Linked DNA regions of Homo sapiens: region 2 is linked to region 1. Evidence: promoter capture Hi-C in 16 types of primary human blood cells and fetal thymus (Javierre and others, 2016). All regions are on one chromosome and are shown on one strand. Each heading gives the region's core, a stretch centred on a gene start or on the middle of the fragment in contact. The rest is flanking DNA. Distances are from core to core; before and after follow the strand shown.

Region 1 (6,099 bases), core at 1,774-4,273:
ATTCTCCTGCCTCAGCCTCCTGAGTAGCTGGGACTACAGACGTGTGCCACCATGCCCAACTAATTTTTTTTTTTTTTTGTATTTTTAGTAGAGATGGGGTTTCGCTATGTTGGCCAGGCTGCTCTCGAACTCCTGACCTCAGGTGTTCTACCCGCCTTGGCCTTCTAAAGTGCTGGGATTACACGCGTGAGCCACTGCACCCGGCCTGAACGCCAAGACTTTCTTATGGCTGGGGACCCTGCCTCTACCTCATCATCCTCACTAGACATTGCCAGGAAGGTTGCACAGGGCAGAATAATGGCCCTCCAAAGACTCCACATCCTAAATCCTAGAGCCTGTAAATATGTTACATTACACGGCAAAGGGGAATGAAGGCTGCAAATCAGCTAAGTAGAGAAATTGTCACAGATTATCTAGGTGGGCTCCATGTAATCACAAGTGTCCCTGAAGATGGAAGAGAGAGGCAGAAGGAGAGTATCAGAGGGAAATGCCACTACAGGAGAATGCTCAGATGCAACCGCGCTGGCTTTGAACATGGAGGAACAGGTCTCAAGCCAAGGAATGTGAGTGGTCTCTGGGAATCAGAAAAGGCAATGATACAGGCTGTCTGCTAGGGCTTCCAGAAAGGAACATGGCCTCGTGTTCCCCTTGATTTTAACCCAGTGATGCCCACATCAGACTTCTGTCCTACAGAACTTTAAGATACTAAATGTGTCGTTGAAGCCAGTGAATTTGCGGTAATGGTACAGCAGCAATGGAGAAGTAATATACTGCATCACCCACATGCCTCATTTCACCAATCAGTGACACCTGCATAACCATTTTCCAGACTGCAGATGGGAACCAAACAGACCTGGACCCAAGTCGGGGCTGGGATCCTGACCTGACCTTGGGCCAATCATCTCTCTGCCTGGAGGGGGTGAGAGCTGAGGATATAACGGGCTAATGGAGGTAGTGGGAATGGACATAGAGGGCTTAGCTCAGTACAGCTGGGACTTCGTGCATGTAGGTGTTGGCTGTCCTGGTTGCAGTCAGCAAGGTCCTTCCTTTACTCTGAGTTACTGGAGGGGCCACAACTGGTGAGGTGACCTGGAGCCTGACCCCTACATCCTGAACCGTGCCTTGCTGATGTTTTCAGGAGAGGGTGCAGGCCTTGCTGGTGGTCCTGGAATGCTGGGGGCCGTGGGCTCTTCCTTCCTGGCCTCTGGCTCCCCTTTGCCCTCACTCCCAGTACTGATGACTGCCTACCCTGCTGCTGGCAAGTCTATGCTGATCCTCTCTTGGGCAGATTTAATGTCTGGAGTCCAAGGGTGAGCCCGTGTCACCATCCCAGTGGTTCCATCTGCATCCATGGCAGGTCAGGGATCCTCGTACGGCCATCCATGGTTATTGCCACACTCAGAGTCAGAGGCCTGGAGCACAGGAGCAGGTTTGCAACCAGCCAGACTCTCTTATTCCTAGCTGACAGCTCAAGAAGTTTGAGTCTTAAGGGGCTAGGGTACCCTAGGGCAGCAACACTAGTACTAGAACCTTCTCTGAAACCCTGGCTCGTTCCTCCCTCGTATTAAAATATATTCATTATTATTATTACTTTTGAGATAGGGTCTCACTGTGTCGTCCAGGCTGTAGTGCAGTGGTGCCATCATGGCTCTCTGTAGCCTTGAACCCTTGGGCTCAAGTGTTTGCCTGCCTCAGCCTCTGGAGTAGCTGGGACTAGAGGTGAGTGTCTACCACCATACCAGGGTAATTTTTTTGTGTGGGGGCGGGTAGAGATGAGGGGGTCTCACTATATTGCCCAGGCTGGTCTTGAACTCCTGGCCTCTAATAATCCTCTTGCCTCAGCCTCCCAAAGTGCTGGGATTACAGGTGTGAGCACTTATTCATTATTCATTATTACATTCATTATATTATTATAATGGCCCGGCCTGTATTCATTATATTTATCATAAAGTAATATTAATAGTACATAAAAATATATAAAAGTACTTAAAAATCCATCCTCGTGTTTTTTGTTTTGTTTTCTTTGAGACAGAGTCTCGTTCTGTCACCCAGGCTGGAGTGCAATGGCACGATCTCGGCTCACCGCAACCTCCGCCTTCCGGGTTCAAGTGATTCTCCTGCCTCAGCCTCCCGAGTAGCTGTAATTAACAGGCATGCACCACCACGCCTGCATAATTTTTGTATTTTTAGTAGAGACGGGGTTTCGCCATGTTGGCCAGGCAGGCCTCGAACTCCTGACCTCGTGATCCACCCAACTCGGCCTACCAAAGTGCTGGGATTACAGGCGTGAGCCACCGCGCCCGGCCGGTTTTTGTTTAAAAAAGAAAAGAAAAAAAAAAAAAAACACACAGACACACACAAAAACATCACCCCAATCCTTCCACCCTTGAACGCCACTTGAAGCCTAAGTTTCCTGCCTCCAAATTCCACTATTTCCACCCTCGACTCTCCTCCCCAGCTGTCCTAGATTCTGCTCCAGCTGAGCCTTGGCCCCGGGGCTGTTAGAAGGCAGAGGCTCTGGGGAGAAGTCCCCAAACCGGATTTACCCGTTCGTCGCACCTGTCCCTAGGAGGGCAGGCTGGGGTGTGGAGGCGGTGCCCTGCTGACCCGCGGGGAGAGAAGCCCGGGTCTCCCAGGCTGCAAAACGCTCGGCACTGCGGAAGCCGCGCCAGGCTCTCCCAGCTCGATACGCAGCGGCCGGCGCGCCTGCTCCGCCGCGGGGCCGAGCGGCAGAGGGGCCCGGGGCTGCGTGGAAGGCCCGGGGGCTTCAGCCCGTGCCGGGGAAGCCGACGCTCAGCCAACCAGAAAGTTAGAGGCGGCCGAGGTCTCGCGGAGGGGAGGCGCCTGGCGGCCACGGGAGAAGTCGAAGGGCTCAGGCGGGGCTCCATCCGCGACACTGGGAGCCCGGGCGGGCGCGCACGTGTGTATACGAGTGCGTGGGCCCATCCGGCGGCCCGGACTACAAGTTCCAGGGTGCCCAGCGGCGCTCCCGGGTTTTCTGGCCGCGCCTCCCGCTGGCTCCGAGCAGGTCGCCGCTGGCTGGCAGTCGCCACCCGGTCCCAGAGTAAATAAGGGAGAGACACTCCCGAGCGCCGTAAATAGAGTCCAAGTGGGCGGAGAGCCGTCCCGCGCCGCCCGCTCATGTCTCTACAGAGCCGACTGTCCGGCCGCCTGGCACAGCTGCGCGCGGCGGGGCAGCTGCTCGTCCCCCCGCGCCCCCGGCCCGGACACTTGGCGGGTGCCACGAGGACCCGCAGCAGCACGTGCGGTCCCCCGGCGTTCCTGGGCGTGTTCGGCCGCCGTGCGCGGACCTCGGCGGGAGTTGGGGCGTGGGGGGCGGCGGCGGTGGGGCGGACAGCCGGGGTGCGCACTTGGGCCCCCCTGGCCATGGCGGCGAAGGTGGACCTGAGCACCTCCACCGACTGGAAGGAGGCGAAATGTAAGTGTAAGCACGAGGGGGCGCGAGGGAGAGGGCGGCCTCACGTGGAGCTTCCCGGCTGGGCGGCCCCCAACGAGCGAGCAGCCCCTTCCACCCGAGAGACCTGGGGAAGTTGAGGCCCCATCTGCCCTGGAACGGACCCCTCCTCCCCATTGACAGCCCCCCCCGCCCCCGCGCGTGTTCCCAGCCCCACAGAACAATTCACTCCAGACCAGGTCCAAGTGTCCACGCAGGGGGCAGCGTGAGGAAGGCGGCCTTCCTTACCCCATTGGAATGGGTCACAGGGCACCCCAGAGATTGTGCAGGACCTACCAACTTCCTTCCCTGTGCAGGAGGGAAACTGAGGCCGAGTGCCACAGCTGGCTTCCCCAAGGTCACTCGGAGCTGGTGGCAAAGTGGAGGTTATGATCCCGGACTCTCCAAACTTTGCACAGTGTGGTTCTTAAGTGTTCGGGAATGGGGCTGAGGGAACAGCTCCGGGGCTGGCGTCCCACCTGGTGGGGCACGTAACCTCACAGAGTGACCTTCCTGGGCTGGCCTGTCCTGCCTCCACCCCACCCCAAGCCCGCACTCTGATGCCTTCCTGGGCACGTGGTCTGGCGCCCTTTTCCCCTTCTCGCTGGCCTCTGGCCACTTGTGAGCAGTTTGCTCATGCCAGGAACAGAGGTTAGAGGAGCAGGGCAGAGGTGGGGTCTTGTCCCTGTGACAACTGATGACACCCTTCAAGAATCACACCACTTCCTCTTGCTCCTGGAGGGGGCATGAGTCTGGGGCCTGGGGAGAGAGAGAACCCAAGCTGCCGCTACTGAGCCCCAAATAGCCCTGCCGGGCACCCAGCTGCCCCTGCCTTTCAGGGCCTGCCTCCTGGGATCCTGTGACTCTTCCCGGCTGGATCCCCTTTCAAAAGTGCAGGGAAGTGGCTAATTGGCTGGGCCTCCGTGGTGGAGTAGGTGTGGCCTCTGGGCTGGGCAGGCAGGATGGGGGGGTCCTGCGGTGTTAGGGGTGAAGAGAAGATGGCTTTCTCGGGACCAGAGGTGGAAATCAAAATGATTTACTCCTGACATGAATTGTGTGGCCTGCGCCAGGATCTAAAAGTGACGGCAGAAAGCACCGACTTTAGCCCGTGAGCAGATGGAGAACTTGTCAGGCACTTGGCCCTTGCCCCAGAACAGCAGGAGGAGTTTGGGGCTGGCAGAGACCCCTGGAGGGGGAGCCACTGTCCCCACAGAGACCCCTGCTCCCCTGAGCACTCTCTCAGAGGACAACAACCCAGGAGGGTGGGAAAGAGCTACGGAGACAAGGTGCCCAGGCACCTGCTCGAGGGCTGCCGCTGTTTTTAGGATCCAGCCCCCACAGCCCCACTCCTTGGTGCCAGGAAAGCAACCGGACCTTGTGATGGGGCTGGGGTTCCTGGGCTGCTGTGTTGTCACTGGGGTCTCCCTTTTGCTTCGAGGTGGGATTTCCAATCATGCAGCAAACTTTTATTGAACGCCCCCTAGGTGGTCAGGCTGGGGACTCAGACATGTGTCAGATAGGCAAGGGCCCTGCCCTCATGGAGCTTGTAATCTGGTGTGAGGATTACAAAGCATCTATTGTAAAGAATGTGTTCTAGCAGCTGAGACAAGGCCCGGTAACCTCAGTGCTGTGAAGACACCATAGCAGATGGGGCCACCTGAGCTGGGGAGATCAGAGGAGGCGTCTCAGGGGTGGTGGCCTGAGAAGAGGCATCCAGCTGGGTAATGATATTCCAGACCCGTTATTGAGTGACAGTGGGCCAGGCCCAAGGAGTGGGGCTGGTCTGGGGCTCTGCCTGCTACTGAAGCCACAGTTAGAGGGACGCTTTCGGGGGTGAGATGTGGAGATCCCCCAATAGTTATCTATTTCTGTGTAACAAAACACCCCGAACCTTAGTGGCGTAAAACAGCAAACCTGCATTCTCTCCATCTCTTGAGGGTCAGGAAACTGAGAGAAGCTTAGCTGGGTGGTTCTAGCTCAGGGTCTCCCTCCCTCTGAGGCCGGGTGGGACTTGGTTAGGGCTGGAGGATGGGCTTCCTAAACAGCTCCCTCCCATAAAATGGCATTTGGTGAGAGGCCTCGGTTGGTCACTTTGGGGCCTCTCCATGGGGCTGCTTGAGTGCCTCACATGGGATAGATGTCCTAAGCTTTTCCCCCAGAGCATATGCTCCACGAGAGGGATCGTGAGGAGACCCCGATGGAGCTGCAGTGCCTTCTTTGTGACCTCGTCTTCGAAGTCTCTCCTGCTTTATTCTAGGGGTCAGAATCGAGTCAGGGAGTCTGGCCATACTCCAGGAGAGGGAAATTAGGCTCTACCTCTTGAAAGAAAGAATCTCAAAGAATTTGAAGGTGTGTTTTTATTTTCTTAAAAAAATTTTTTTTTGAGACAGTTTCACTCTTTTTGTCCAGGCTGGAGTGCAGTGGTGTGATGTCACTGCAACCTCTGCTTCCCGGGTTCAAGTGATTCTCCTGCCTCAGCCTCCTGAGTAGCTGGGATTACAGGCACCCACCACTATACCCGGCTAATTTTTGTTTGTTTGTTTGTTTGTTTGTTTGTTTTTTAGATGAAGACTTATTCTGTTGCCCAGGCTGGAGTGCAGTGGTGTGATCTCAGCTCACTGCAACCTCCGCCTCCGGGGTTCAAG
Region 2 (6,099 bases), core at 1,316-3,815, 160 kb after region 1:
GCCACAGGGCTCTGCCCTTCCTGAGCTCTCCGCCCGGACTCTCATCCCGGACTCTCCTCCCCATCTCCTTCCAAAGCCAGTTCTTTCTCATTACTCAGGGCTCTGCTCCAATGCCACCTCCTCGGAGGGGCCACCTCATCCTCTGAACGGCGCCCATCCCTCCCTCCTTCCTCGGGGCCAGCTCCATTTTCCCCTTCTCCTTTTTCACCACGCCCACAACTTAGAGCCGCGTGTCCCGTCCCTAGAACTGCTGCGGCCACAGGACTCCTGGCCCTTGCATAGGGCTGGCACGTGGCACGTCGCCCCCGAGCCCTCGTACGCATTTTTTGAATGGTAGAGTTTGGAACCAGTAGGAGGGGCGCGGGAGGCAGTGAATTCATCTGAGAGGGAGGCTGCAGGGAGCCCCAGAGAGTCCAGGAAAGCTTTGTTGGAGTTGAGGATTTTATTCCATGTACTCTTGGGAGCCATGGGAGGTTTTATGACAGGGGATGCGTGCCCTTCCCCAAGGAAAGGCCCCCAGGCCTTCCTGCCACCCCTGCCTGACCCCAGTTGATGATGGTGCCAACGGCAGCCAGGCATTCTCAGTACTTACGACATGGCCACCAGCACCCTTTGAACCTCTCCCTGAAGAATCTCATACACCCTCACCCCGCCCTATGGGAGGCATCATTAGCGTCTCCATTTTGCAGGTGGAGAAACTGAGGCACTAAGTCCCTGGAGCTGAACCTCACTTCCCGCCCCACCCCGCAGCTGGCCCCTGTGTAAGAGGGAGGCTGGGACTTGGGGCCCCTGTCCCGTGGCCACAACTTTGACCAGGCAGGGCTGTGGAGCTCCTGCTCTGTCCCCAGCAGGCACGATGCCACCAAGCCCCGGCATGCAGCTGCCACAGGGATTTTTAATAACGGGAGTGATTTTTGCATGATGAATGAGGCACTGCCGTTGTGTACATAATGAAGCCCTAATGTTTTCAAATCCCCATTTAAGGAGCTGATCTCACCCCGTAATGAATTTCAGATCTCATCACAGAACTGTCGTCCATCCATCTTCTCCCCCGGGCACCCACCCGCCTTGGCACCGAGAGGGTGGGGCCTGGTGAGGATGGGCTCTGCACCCTGCTGGGCTGAGCTCAAGCCTAGCACAGAGCCGGGGCTGGCTAGAGTTTGTTGATTGAATGGCCGACCAGGAGGGTGTGAGCAGAAGCAAAGATGGTTCCGGCAATGGGATATCGCTCAGGTCTTGGCCTAGTTGAATAGAAGCCAGAGGTGGAGAATGAGGAGTGGGCTGGGAGAGAAGAGAGCGCAAGACCCTTGGGTAGGTCACTTATCCGGTCTTTGTGGCTAAACCTTCCCTCTGCAGGGTTAGAAGCCTGGGGCAGCAAGTCAGATGTCTGCCCTTGACGCAGTTGGTACCCTCTCAGAGACTCAGTTTCCCCCATTTCCCCGGGAGCCTTGTCCCTTTCTGCCTTGGCATCTGGTATTTCTGTAGCCCTCCTCCAGAGAGGGAAACCAGCATGGGCTGCACCGAGGCTTGGCTGCCAATGCCCTCCAGGCTGTGCCCAGCCCGTCCAGGCGGGAGTGGTCCCTGGAGCCCAGACCCCTGGTCCTTCCTGGGCTGGAGGGGAGACACACCCCTCCCTCAAACCCCAGCTCACACCTCTGCCTCCCCAAGGCCCTCTGTCTCCAGCCCTCCTGCCTGCCTTCTCAGGGGCATCTCCACCCTGGCAGTGCAGCCAGTCCCTGGGGTACAAGGCCCCCAAAAGCATGACAGGGCAAAGGAATCCCCTGCCTGTGAAGTCCATGGCTGAGCCTCAGCCTCCCATCTGTAAAAAGGGGATCCTCCCATACAGCCCCCAAAAGCTCATTTCAGAGGCGTGAGGTTGAGCCAGAGAGGTATGAGACTCGGCACCTGAGAGGCAGGGCCAGACGCTGCAGTCACAGGGCAGCAGGCTGGACACCCAGCCAGCCCAGGCCCCACTCACCCCCACAACCTTGCCCAGGCCCCCCTTCCTGTTCACCTCCCTGCTCTTGGGGCCCACAGGAGTCTAGGAAGGTGGGGGCCAGGGGCAAGAGCTGCCCAGGCAAGGCCTTACACTTTGCTGTGTGGCTCTGGGAAAGTGGCTTTGCCTCTCTGAGCCTATCACTACTTCTGTACGATGAGGGTTAATAATGTGGGTCTTGGCCGGGCGCGGTGGCTCACGCCTATAATCCCAGCACTTTGGGAGGCCGAGGCGGGCGGATCACAAGGTCAGGAGTTCAAGACCAGCCTGGCCAACATGGCAAAACCCCACCTCTACTAAAAATACAAAAACTAGCCAGGCATCATGGCACACGCCTGTAATCCCAGCTACTCAGGAGGCTGAGGCAGGAGAATTGCTTGAACCCGGGAGGCGGAGGTTGCAGTGAGCTGAGATCATGCCATTGCACTCCAGCCTGGGCAACGAGCAAAAAACTGTCTCAATAAATAAATAAATAAATAAATAAAGTGGATCTTAGTTTCTGCTCCTCCTCTCACTGTGGGGCCTTGGACAGGTTGCTTAACCCCCCTGGCCCTCAGTCTCCCATCCCCCTTGACACCTTCCAGCATATCTCAGTGCTCCCCACCACTCTTTTTTCTTTTCTTTGAGATGGGGTCTTACTATGTTGTCCAGGCTGGTCTCGAACTCCTGAGCTCAAGTGACCCTCCCACCTCAGCCTCCCAAAGTGCTGAGATTACAGGCATGAGTCACCCCTCCCAGCCCCCACCAGTCTCTGGAGGCCAGAGCTCTGAGACTCAGAGAGGTTAAGTGACTTGCCCCAAACCACCAGCAATCTCGTGGCCAGGAATTCTGGGAAGAGAAATCCCAAAGAGGGCACAGCGTGGGCCAGCCCCACGGGATGGTAGGGGGAATGGGGGAGCAGAGAGAGACCAGGAGCAGGTCCAGGCCTGCGGGTTGGGGTGCCCTGCCCTCGGTAGGGGCACAGCTGCCCTCCTGGTCCTGTGGGCCACAGGCCTCCTTATGTTCCTGTAAATAATTAATTAGCCCCTGCCTGCTTGTTTGTTTAGCATGAGGAATGCTCCCCCACTGAGATGCATTTATTGCTGAATAAATTTAAATATCTAATCTTCCCTTCATGCATATTACAGCACCCTAAATAGCGGCCAACTCATCCTAAGCGCCTTGGCGGATGGCCCCACCGGAGCCTGCCTGCCTTCCGCCTCTGCTGGCTCTGAGGACTGCCCACTCCTGGTGCCCTCCACTGCCCCAGGAATGCCCAGGGCCATGGGCAATCACTCAGCCCAGCCCTCCTTCCTTCCACAACATCCTTCCATGGGAGGCGCACAGATGCTGGGCTGAATGCTGGCCGTGGAGGCTGGAAGGCAGGGCTTTACCACAGCAAAGCAGGGAGATGCCTAAGATGGGGCGGAGGGTCAAGGGCCGCTCAGAGGCCAGGGCTTGGGGCAGAAAGAGGTTCCTCCGGGCTCAGGCGAGGGCAGGCAGAGCCCCAGTGGCATTTGAGGAGCGGCCTGAGGAACGAGAGCCCACGAAGGAGACGGGAAGTCCCGCTGGATGGAGGGAGCCGTCAGCGCTGGGGGCAGCCAAACCGTCCAGAAAGACAGTGGCCTCAGAACACTGTGCAACAAGAGGCCACCAGGGCAGCCCCCCTGCTGGAAGGGGACGTGCTGATGTGGGGAGACACTGCCTCCCCAAGAGCGTGGACAGGGGGCCATTCAAACCAGTCAGCCAGAGTGGTTCAGGGCGAGGCCCTTTAGTGGTCCCAGAGGAAGCAGAGCCACTGAGGTTGGGAGCCCAACCTTCCAGCCGTGTGGGCAAGTTTTGCTCTCTGTGCCTCAGTTTCTTCTTCTATAAACAGGAAAAATAATAAGACAGCGGCTGTAAATCACCACGCAGGTGCTTACCCAACAAGAAGGCTGACAAAGGCCATGGGGGGTGAGTCATACCAGCTACTTAGGAGGCTTAGGCAGGGCAACATAGCAAGACCCTGTCTCAAAAAAACACAGGCTCACATCTGTAATCCCAGCACTTTGGGAGGCTGAGACGGGTGGATCACTTGAGGTCAGGAGTTCAAGACCAGCCTGGGCAACATGGTGAAACCCCATCTCTACTAAAAATACAAAAAATCAGCTGGGCATAGTGGTGCGCCCCTGTAAGCTCAGCTACTCGGGAGGCTGAGGCATAAGAATCACTTGAACCCAGGAGGCAGAGGTTGCAGTGAGCCAAGATTGCACCACTGCACTCCAGCCTGGATGATATAGTGAGACAGAGGGCTGATATGAAGGAGCCATATCAGGGGGAGTTTAACGGTAGAGGAGGGTGGAGGGAAGAAGGGGCTGCAGGGAGGAGGCAGAGGGGCCTTAGGGGCCATCTTCTGGCCACAGGTGGAGGAAGGCTTCATCTTTGACCTGATGGAGAAACATCTCAGGGGGGTCCCGCCACCCAAGTGGGCTCTGCCTCCCCAGGAAAGACCCCAGGTTTTCTGCTGACTTGGGGTGAGGGTTGAGCTGGAGCCTGGAGGTTTGTTTTGGTGGCTGAGGGCCCTGGAGAGGAGACTAAGGGTTGGTCAGCTCCTGTGAACTGGGAATACCCCACCTCCACCAGGTAGCCCCAGGGATCAGGGCTGCTGGTCTTTTCCAGCTGCCTTGGGGTGGGGTGGGAAGAGGGAAGAGGGAAGGAAGGGCATCTCCCCTGAATGGGACCCCAGGAAGCTTGAGTCTCTAGGACCTAGCTTAGCCCCAGGTAAGAGCCAGGACAGGGCCTGGAGGGCAGAGCTAAGGGGACTCTGGGAGTGTGTGTGGGAGGGGTCCTTTGGGCCTATGGCTAAGGAGAGCAGGGTGGGGGGGTTCCCCTCTGCACTCTCAGGGGAGAGAGCGAGAAGGCTGGTGTGTGGACAGGGAGGGACACGCAGGCAAGAGGGGCCAGGCTGCACTCTAGCTTGTTGGGGTAGCAGTGGGCTGACAGTGACCTGTCCCTCATCTCTGCTTTAGGGGAGCCCCTCCCTGGGGCCCCTGCAGAGCCATCACCTGGCCCAGGCCCTGTTCTGGAACTGCTGGGGGTGAGGAGGGGGCATCTGGCCTGAGCCCTCTGCCAGCATTGATTCCAGCTCCCTCCACCTCCCTTGCGCCCCCAGGTCAGCCCCAAAGGCCTGGCTGCAGGCCAGTCCACTTCCGCAGGAAACATTAAATTCCTGAAACACTGAGCTCCACTTCCCCGCACGGGCCCCCACAGCTGGCCGAGGTCGCCTGCAGGGCGGTGAGCCCCCAGAGACTTCGAGCAGCCGGTGCCAGGTGCTCGACCCGGGAGGCTCCTAGGAGAGCCAGCTCAGACAGATCCCTGGGCTCACCCCCACACACTGTGAACACCCTGTGTGCACCCACCTCCCATCACACTGATGTACACATACCCGAACATGCCCACACTGTCACACTGTTGTTAATAACAGGATACACTCATGACCTCCATTCTTGCCAAGCACTGCCTTAAGCACATTACAAAGTTAGTTTAACTCAATCCTTCCAACAGCCCAATGAGCTCTGAGGTGGGTGCTATTATCCCATTTTCCAGATGGAGCAACTGAGACCCAGAGAGGTTAAATGATATGTGAGGGGTCACACATCTGTGGCTGGCAGAGCCAGGATGTGAACTCACGTTGCCCAGCTCCACAGCCCAGCCACGGCACCCCATTCGGAACACTCACTTCCCAGCACTGGGAGCTCCAGCCTGGACGCCCGCTCTGGGCCCTGCCTTCTTGCTCCATCTCAGCCTCGCCCTGGGCTACAGCTGCCTTTCTCCCTGCAGAGGAGAGGAGCAGGTGGAAGGGATCCAGGCCTGAGCCGTTCTCAGCGTTCCCCTAACCTCTCTGCCCACCCATCCCTGGGACGCTCTGGGAAATTGCCTGGTGCCAGCTCTGAGTAAAGTTGCAGAATGAGGTTTAATTGTGCCCCCAGGGCACGAGATCAAACAGCAAAAGAAAGGGGTGTGAGCTACCTGGCATCCCTGGAACTGTGCCGAGACTGAGGTGATGAAGGAGAAGGTGGCCTTGGTTTGTCCATCTGTAAAATGGGGAATGATGGTCCTCTCTTGATGCCCGCCTGTGAGCACCA

The links. The method cuts DNA at HindIII sites, captures the fragments that hold promoters and counts their contacts. A CHiCAGO score of 5 or more calls a contact.
Region 2: a contact is called between a fragment that was not itself captured here and the fragment with the promoter of MACROD1 in region 1, in 8 of 17 cell types (M0 macrophages, endothelial precursors, M1 macrophages and 5 more). The highest score is 8.0, in M0 macrophages.

Annotation. Positions count from the first base shown.
Region 1 is chr11:64,163,037-64,169,135 of GRCh38, reverse strand. It overlaps MACROD1 (mono-ADP ribosylhydrolase 1), which reads left to right and starts at 3,023. Exons shown (of 11, transcript NM_014067.4): 1 at 3,023-3,439. The coding sequence starts at 3,142. LOC105369339 (a long non-coding RNA gene) reads right to left here and starts at 2,898. Exons shown (of 3, transcript XR_950187.3): 1 at 2,547-2,898. RefSeq lists silencers at 2,637-2,896, 3,157-3,236, 3,367-3,466 and an enhancer at 3,004-3,504. The HindIII fragment of the contact is 18,296 bases long and covers 1-5,413 here.
Region 2 is chr11:64,001,405-64,007,503 of GRCh38, reverse strand. All of the region lies in intron 4 of MACROD1 (mono-ADP ribosylhydrolase 1), which reads left to right. Among named protein-coding and RNA genes, the nearest start is that of OTUB1, 18 kb to the right of the region's middle. The HindIII fragment of the contact is 4,282 bases long and covers 425-4,706 here.